Regions from separate parts of the Homo sapiens genome. Here region 2 is linked to region 1. Evidence: promoter capture Hi-C in human tissues and cell types (Jung and others, 2019). All regions are on one chromosome and are shown on one strand. The core of a region is centred on a gene start or on the middle of the fragment in contact, and the rest is flanking DNA. Distances in the headings are between cores, read along the strand shown.

The links. Contacts are between HindIII fragments. The study calls those that stand out against the background at their distance.
Region 2: a contact is called between a fragment that was not itself captured here and the fragment with the promoter of ALX3 in region 1, in 2 of the 25 tissues and cell types used here (mesendoderm cells and thymus).

What each region holds. Positions count from the first base shown.
Region 1 is chr1:110,068,515-110,073,046 of GRCh38, reverse strand. ALX3 (ALX homeobox 3) reads left to right here and starts at 2,375. Exons shown (of 4, transcript NM_006492.3): 1 at 2,375-2,711. The coding sequence starts at 2,435. The HindIII fragment of the contact is 7,804 bases long and covers 1-4,532 here.
Region 2 is chr1:110,143,567-110,148,098 of GRCh38, reverse strand. No RefSeq gene overlaps it. Among named protein-coding and RNA genes, the nearest start is that of SLC6A17, 4.7 kb to the left of the region's middle. The HindIII fragment of the contact is 4,500 bases long and covers 90-4,532 here.

The DNA of each region.
Region 1 (4,532 bases), core at 1,126-3,625:
GGACCACATACAGATAGATAAAAGTTTACACAAACGGCTTAAAAGACAAGTGGAAAAGTCTCCTCCCCGTGTGCTGATTTGTGTGGTTCTGGAAGAAAACTCTCCCAGGAAGGTCAACTCCACTTACCCACAAAACTCTCATGTAATCTAGGGTTTTCTCTCTCCTCAGTTTAATTGGTAACACCATCCCAGTATGGAAATTGGCTCTGTTCAGAGAGTGGGAGAATGTCAAGAGAAATTTCTGGGCTTGAAAGTGGATGCAGGTCCCTGTGTCTCTCTGCTCAGCTCCAGCCTTAGGCCCATTCACTCTGAAGTCAGGAGCCTTTCACCTATTCAGTGATGGAACCCACTGGAGATGGTAATCACCATCATCATCAGCATCTATTAAATTAACACAGTGCATCAAAACACGAATGCTTTGCAAATACCCTACTTCCATGTGTGGCCCACCTTTCTGATGAGGAAACTGAGGCTCAGCAAGGTTGTCATGGGAGGCAGAAGACTCAGCCTTTGATCCAGGCTGCCTTGTTTAAATTGTTGGTGACATTTTCCTGGGTGATATTTTCATCCTCCATAGTAAACTTCTTGATAACTGTTGAATAGAATAGGTATCCTAAATTGATGTCCTCCTAGAAAGTCAACAATATCCAATTTCGCAGGTATGGGGAAGAGAGAAAAGAAAACAATATCCAATCAACAACTATTGAAAAACCTTATTAATGGGCAAAGGTGATCGGTTCAAATTGGTTGCCCAGAGCTGGATCCACTAGATCCTGGAGAAAGGATCCCTCTGGTGAGGCCAGAAGGGAAGCTTAATTTCAAGCCGAGCCTCCCTCTTGACTAGAAATACCAGCCCCAGGTGCTCCCATCTCTCTGGCCAGTCTGCATTCCGTGATTAGGGGCCCTAATGGCCATAATGCCTCCAAGGTGGTGTTGAAACCAATAAGTCTTCAGAGAAGTTATGGTATGTTTAATAACGGCTTAATGACTCCTTGTGAGATGCAAGGCTTCTGGTTCCTGTTTGGTCTTGATTTACAGCCCAACTCTGGCTGAGGAGCCAAGAAACCCCTTCTAAGCCCCCAGCGGAAGAGGGAGGTGTTCACACCAGGCCTCTTGGATTCCTTTAAAAATTGAGAATTCAAATGAAATACAAATGATGTTTGACTCCCCACCTCTCTTGCTAGTCTCCGGGGGCATTGATAATAAAAACAGTTTAACGCAGCCCCACGGGCTCCTCAATCCATGGGAAGTGAGCAGGGTCCTCGGGTCCTTGGGTATTTCTCCCCAGATCTTAGGTAGGGTGGTGGTTATTTCTCTTTTCTGAAATTCTAAGCTACTGCTCTAATCCTGTCTCCTTTTGGTTGGGGAGACTCAGCTCTTAGAAGATGCAGTTCTACCCTCATCCCTTCTGAATCGTCAGGCCTGGGGGAGCACAGCCCTGAGGTCCGAGCTGCAGACAGTCTCTCCAGTGGGTCCCCAGACACTTGGGTCATCTGCCCACTGAAACGCATTCACTCCAAGCTGCTGCCAGAGGAAACACCAGCCCTTCTGCTCATCCTCCACCTGTTCCAAAGGCTGCCCCTGCAGGACACTGTTCAGTCCTGAGCTGCCCATGGGAGTCTCCCTGTCTGCTCTGGCCCTGTCTCTACTTCTGAAACACACCTCAAATACATAGAAAGACCCAGGGTTGGCTTGGCCCGACCTCCACAGTCAGATGAGGACACTAATGATTGGCGCAAGGAACCATAGCTAATTAATGATAGTGTCCAGGTCCAAGCTCCCCAGCACCCCATTCCCAGCTTAGATCTGCTTCCACACAACACTCCCAATAGCTCCTTTCACTGTGAGAAACAAGAGATCTCTAAGGGAGGTGTTTTTTGCTGAGGCAACATTTTGTCCAGCTCCTAGCGGAGACCTAAGTAAAACTGCAGCCTAAGGCCTGCCTGTCTGCCCGCCCAGGCCCTCATCCCAGGCTGATGTCCAGAGTCCAGGCCCAAAAGTGTTTGGGGGGGATGCCCACACGGCCTCACCCCTCTAGGGGCAAGTGCCTCTAGGCTGGATATCAGGACCACGGGTGCTGCTCTGAGCAAGAGACTCACCTGGATGGGTAGACAAAGGGATCCTGCCCTAGAGAGGAAGCTGCTTCATCCTCTCCTGAGCTGCCTGGGACTGGGCTCTGGGTGAATGGGGGGAGGGGGTTCCCGGGCTCCGAGGGGTTAACCCGCACGGGGCCACACGTGACGTGGATGGTTCCAGCATTAAGTCAGAGGCGCGGCCCCCTCCCCTGCCCCCCGCCCCCCGCCCCCCGCGGCGCGCGCCGCTCCCGGGGGCTCCGCGCCCCCGCGCCCAGGTCCCTCCCCCTTGGCGGGCGCTCACAGGCGGCGCGGGCAGCGCGAGCCCCGGAGCCCCGGAGGCCTGTGCGCCCTGAGCCGGCATGGACCCCGAGCACTGCGCGCCTTTCCGCGTGGGGCCTGCACCCGGCCCCTATGTGGCCTCGGGGGACGAGCCTCCGGGCCCGCAGGGAACCCCCGCCGCTGCGCCTCACCTGCACCCCGCGCCGCCCCGCGGCCCGCGGCTGACCCGCTTTCCGGCCTGCGGGCCCCTGGAGCCCTACCTCCCAGAGCCGGCCAAGCCGCCCGCCAAGTACCTGCAGGACCTCGGGCCCGGCCCGGCCCTCAACGGCGGCCACTTCTACGAGGGCCCCGCGGAAGGTAACGCGCGGCGCGGGGCGTAGCGCGCAGCCCGACCCTCTCTTCTTCTTCCTTACCCGGGCCCACCCGGGCCTTCCTGCTTATCTCTCCCGCTCGCCTATTTCTCAACTTTTTGCCCCTCTCGCCTTTCGCCACGGCTTCCACGGAAGCCGGGTTGGCGCTGGCCCGGGCCAGGCAAAGGCCAGTGTGGGGCGGGAGGGTGAACCACCGTTCCTCGGCGGCGGGAATGGAAGGCGGGAGGTCGAGGGAAGGTGCAGTGGCGACGGCCCGGAGTCCAGTCGGGGCCCGAAAGCAGTTGGACCTGGGAAGGAGAGAGCATGCTCTGCCGAAGTTGGACTGGAACTGCCACCTACCCTGAAGCCCAGACCCGGCCGAGGGCTGTGGAGCCACACTGAGACCTGACGAAGAAGCGCGGCTTTTGTGTCTGGCGCCCTTTGAGGGCCCTGAGGCTGGGCCTCAACCTAGAGTGGTCAAATCGGGGTCGGCTGGGGACTGCGGCCTGGTCTTGGCCCGTCTCTCCTCCCCGGGCCTAGCCTTCACAGGAAGGGTGCTGCCTGTGCGGCAGACTGGCACAGTCTGGCCGCGACTGGTCGTGCAATGCCAGGGCTGTCCTCAAGACGGAATAACTGTATTCTTATTTCTCATACTAAGCTGGCCTCCCTGCCGTTATGCACTATGATAGCCGCCCTTCTGGCAGTCTTGGCTTCCCCGCGCTGGATCATCACCGCTGGGCAGTCAGGAGCAGCCCTGGGCAGCCTAACCCCCTGGCGCCGCGGGCTCACGGGCCGGTGCCCTGTGCTAAGGCCGGCTGGACCGCGCCGGCATCCGAGAATGCGCCTGAAGGCAGGGGCCTGGCAGGCTGATCGGCAGCTCTGCGGCCGTCCGCCGCACCCTATGACCTGTAAGGCGTCTCGGCTTCCGCACTGCACCCACCTTATCTGCGCTGCCATATCCCGCAGCCTAGGCCCAGAACTGGATCCTCCAAGATCCGCCTCAACCCCCTGCCGCCGCCCGGCTGGCGCCTCGCGGGCCTCCACGGAGTGGCCGGGCATCTCCGGCTTTCGCCCAGCCGGGGCGGTGGGAATGTGTAGGGGAGGGCGGGGAGGTGTGTGTGGGTCAACGGAGGAAATGAACGAGTCCGCGGAGCTTCGTGTCTGTGCCCTTTGAAAGAGGCTTTCCTGATAAAAACCACAGTTGGGACTTAATGAGAAGCAGTTGGCCTGGCTCCTCTGATCCCAGCCAGACGGCAGAGGCCGCGCAGTGCGGTGAGCACCGCCAGAGACAGGTACCCGGCCTGGCTCAGCGCTCCGCGTCGGGCAGGAGCCACCCCCCCAGGCCCGCGTCCCTGCTAGGCGCGCCGCATCCGGCACCGACAGCTCGGGCCCCCGGACCACACCGGTGCCGCGCGAACTGCAGAGAGCGCTGGTGCGGAACGAGCGGCCGGGAGAAACCCAGCACCCCGGGATCCGACGGCAAGGGTGGCCTTGACAACGAAATACCGAGAAAGAAAACCAAAGAAAGCGAGCGACAACCAAGAAAAGGGGAAGGGAAATTGAACAAAACAACGGAGAGCGCGGCGAGAACGAGAGGGTAAATGGCAGTCGGCGAGCTGGGATGAACTAAAATGAATAAATGAGGAACGAACGAATAAAAAAAGCAGGAGCAAGATCGAACGAAACGGATAACTAGAGAAGGGGGAAAGGACAAAGAGGGAGGGAGCAGACTAAACAAAAGAAAACGGAGCATGTTTAAAGCGTAGAATATATCAAAATGAGAACAAGGGGGTAAGAAAATTAACGATTTCAGTTGAACGGAGGACAG
Region 2 (4,532 bases), core at 1,090-3,589, 75 kb before region 1:
CTGTCTGCCTTCATGGCCACCAACTTCAAGTGGGCTCCTCACACTTCCTAAGGACTTCCCTGTAATTCTCTGGTCAACTTACTTCCCCACTCTGATCAAGGCCATTCCAACCAGAACTCTCCCCAAACACTCATCCTACTTTCCCCCCACGTCATACTTCCCTGCTGTCTCAGGAACTGCCTTACTTCATTTGGAAGACCCCTCGGTTTTCCAACGAGAATTAAACCGTTTCCATCTGCACATACCCTCTTCTCCCTCTTCCCTGGATATGGTAGGGAGAGTCTCTCCTCTGTAGACCAGCCTCCACCTGTCCCCTGGGTCCCATGGCCCCACACCTTCTTGAGAACCTCAGCTACCCATTAGTTAATCCAGTCTCTCCTGTCTGTCTCATTAACTTTCCCTTTCTCTGGATGCTTTTTAGCAGCTCGAGAGCATATGCAAATATCTTCCTTTAAAATGTCACTAGAGTCCATCTCAAAAAAAAATGTCACTAGGCTCTCATCCCTCATTTCTTCATTTTCTGCCTCCATTTCCTCACCCCTACACACTCCTTAACACACTTCTGCCCCATCATGCTGCCAAGAAGGGTCTCACTAAGGTCACCAGTGACTTCTGTGTCACTAAATCCACAGGACATCTTCCAGTCCTCATCTTACTGACCTTTCTGTAATGCTTATTGTGGGTGCCCTCTCCTTCCTTCTGACACTCTCTTCCCTCCCCTTCTGGAATTCTGCGCTCCCAGGTTTTCCTCCTAGCCTTCTGCTCACCCCTCAGTTTCCGTTGCTGATCTTTAAGTGTTGGACGTCTCGCAGCCAAACCCTCTTCTCACTCTGTACCCTTCCTAGACCATCTCCTACACTGATGACTTCTGCATGTCTGTCTCCATTCCAGACAGTCTTCTGAGCTCCACATATTCACCCTCCAACTCCACCTTTCCACTTGGCTCCACAGAGCTACACATGTTGAAGAAATGAACTCAACATTCAAAGATCTACCCTGCAGAACATTCAGCAGTTGGCTTCTTGCTTCTCCTCCTGTGCTCCCTGGCTCTGTGAATAGTTGAGCCAGCCAAAACCCCAATAATCACCCTTGAGACTTCCCCTTTCATAAAATCTATCAGTAAATCCTGGAGATCTTAGTTGCTACATACCTCTGGGATCTGGTCGTTTCTCTTTAATTCTGCTGCCACCACCTCCCGCCCCCAACTGCCTATTCCAAACTATAATAATCACTCACCTGGACTCACAGTCCCCTCTTGACACTAACTCCAGTCTTACTCCCTTCTCTCCACATAGCAGCAAGAGTGATCTTTTAGAAGTACAAATATAATCACAACCTTTTTAAGCTTGCAGAGTTGCACCCACATCTTTAGCATGTCTTTCAGGGACCTTCCCTGTCTCCAGCCTCATCTCACACCCTTCCCCCCATGGACTTCCCTGTAATACACCACCCTTCTTTCAGCTCTTCCTACCCCCCCCACTCCTTCCTGACTCAGACTTTAGCCCATAAGCCCTGACAGGGATCTGCTCAGTCCCCCTTGTTCTCTTCCCTCACTGCCTGCCCACTCGTCCAACAGAGTTCACCATGAACTGGACCCTCTCCTGACCATGGAGAAGAACTGGGTCAACCTCCCAGCTGGACTTTTCTTCTCCTTTTTAGCCCTTGTCACAATTGTAATTAAGTACTGAGGGCATGACTGGTTGCTTAGGGACAGTCTCCTTGGTTGATGTGGAAGCTCCACAGGACAGAGGCCATGCCCAACTTTAACACACAGTAGACTGTCCATAAATAGTTGATGAAATCTGAATAACTAAAAATAATATTGCTAGTCTAAAATCACTCCCATATTGCTTTGATTTGTAAGTTCAACCTTGTTTAAATAAAAAGAAAAACAATGTGAAAAAAAATAGTTGATGAAAGAATACCTAAGGTGTGGTTAGAAATATGAGTAGAAAGTCCAGGAAAGAGGGCAGGAGACACACACTTGGAAGTCATAACCATAAAGGGTTTGGGGGAAGGCGAGACTCTCTTGAGGAAGCACACAGAAGATGGTCATGAGGATAGAGGCTTGGCAGGACATGCTTATTTCTGAGGAGCAGGAGGGGCAGGAAAGAAGACAGAGAAGAGTCAAGAGCTGAGAAGATGACATGTATCACAAAAGAAAGAGAATTGTAAGAAGGAAAGGTAGTTCACAGTGTTGAAATCTGCAGCAAAGTTAAAAAGATGAAGCCTGAGAGGTGTCCTCGATGACAGCACTCATGGGGAGGTGGGCCTGAAGCCACAGGAAGGGGCTGAGATGGAAATGGGAAGAAAGGCCTCCACCATGAAATCTTCCTGAACACTCCAGCTGTCAGTGGCCAACTCTCCTCTGAGCATCTAGAAAACAAATTCTTCCTTTTCTATGGCATATGGAAATACATAAACTTATACAGTGTAATATTATAAGGTCAGTATTATTCAAATTCCCATTTCACTAAAGGGAAAATCAAGGCTTAGTGTGGTTAAATAATCTGTCCAAGCCATACAGTGAGATGCATCCTGGGTCTAAAGTCCTTGTTCTCAATCCCGACCTTTAGGGCTTTATAACATAAGTCTGCCTTCATGTGTCTATGCCTTCCTCTCAAATTAGAGTGTGATTCCTTACAGGGGAGGGATCTTTTCTTCTTCATAGCTTCATGCCGTACAGCCCCAGCACAGTGACTTACATACAGTAGGTGCTCAGTCAAAGCTTACACACTGGGCAACCCTGTCAAACATGGTGGATCCAACACGATGACCTAATCCACTCATCCCAGCACTAGTCCTCCTTGAAAGAGGAGACACGTGTACTGGCTAACCTTTCCTTCCCAGCTATCCCCCATCCACTCAAGCCTGCTTTCCTGAAAAGAAAGGCATTGAAGTGATGTTCCTAATGTTCATCTCCTGCTACATAGCCTCAAAGATACTATTCCCAAATATGTTAAGTAGGAAGATGTAGGAGAACATATTGGCCTTTTCCCAGGACATGGAAACAACCCAAATTGCAATTCACCTAAGTCGTGTTTGTGTTTCTGAGTGTCTTAAACATACAGCTGCTGAGATACACCCTCTCCTTTGTTCTTGGTGGCACAATTATTAGAGTTTCCTCACTGTGTGTGTTTTAAAACATGGCCTCAAAATTCTTTGACAATGCTGTCTTCAAGAAGTGAAGTCTATATTCCCTCCCTTTGAATCTATGCTCTGAGACTATGTAAACAAGATAATTAATATCATGTTTGTTTCTGGACACAGACCATAAGAACACAGTAGCTTCCATTATCTCTGTCTTGGTATGCTTGCTCTTGGAATCCACCTACCATTCTGTGAGGAAGCCCAAGCAGCCTATGGAGAGGCCCATGGGAGAGAAACTGAGGCCCTCAGCCCACAGCCCTGGCTGAGCTCCTGACCTACAACCATCCCCAACCTGCCAGCCATGTGAGTGAGTTATCTTGGAAGCAGCTCCTCCAGCCTCCAGCCAAGCCTCACAGCTGACACTGCATGAAGCAGAACCACTGCCCCTCAGTCCTTCCTAAACGCCTGACCCACAGAAACCACAAGGGAGAAAAAATGACTGTTGTTTTAAGCCACTACACTGTAGGACGAGTTGTTATGCAGCAATAAATAACCAGAACAGCCATGTAATCATTGAATAAGTGTGGAAGTAGCAAGATGACCGGGGACCACTTATCCACCTGCTCCTCCACACCTTTGAGATTTCCCTCACCCAGTAAGCAGTAAGAGGGGCCTCTTCCCATAGCCATCATAAGAACCCCATCCTCCTAGATTGTGTTAGATCAGCAAAGAGGATGAGTAAACCTCACCAAATTAGCATTCAAAATCTCAAACACAGCTGATAAGAAAGTCCCCAGCCACCATCGTTACCGTATAAATGTATCTGTAGAATGAATGCTCGGCTGTGTGGTGCCTTGAGATATGGTTATCCTCTTGTGGCCTCTGAGAAGAAAGCTGATCCGTGTGGGTAGGTGGCATTCTACCTGAAGGAAGAGGCAAATGCCAGTGTCATTCCCTGGGGGAAGTAGAAACTGGGACCTGGAACATGAGCTCCATGCTTCTACAGGGCTAACCCACATCCATGACACTTCAGTTTCCTTCATTCCCTTTCCTTGCCCATGGCCACCATCCCTAATACATTTTGGTTTGATTTCCCATTGAGACCCTACTTGGCCTCATTACATCACCAATCAGTTGGAGTCAGCAGAAGAAATGAAGCACATTTGCCATCCTGGGTTGGAAAATGAGGAGACATGAAGCTTCAGCTCTCAGAGGCAGGGACGAGGGGGCAGCATGGTAAGACAGCACACTGAGGATGTGGTTAAAAACTCGGCTCAGGAGTGGAGGTGCCAGCGTTCATCGTCTCACCCCATTATTACCAGCTTGGGATGTCTCAGGGCCTGCATATCCTCACCTGTGGAATGGAGATAATAACAGTTCCCTCCCTCACAGGGTGTTGAGTAATAAATGAGATTTTTCCAAGCAACACGTTTATAACAGCA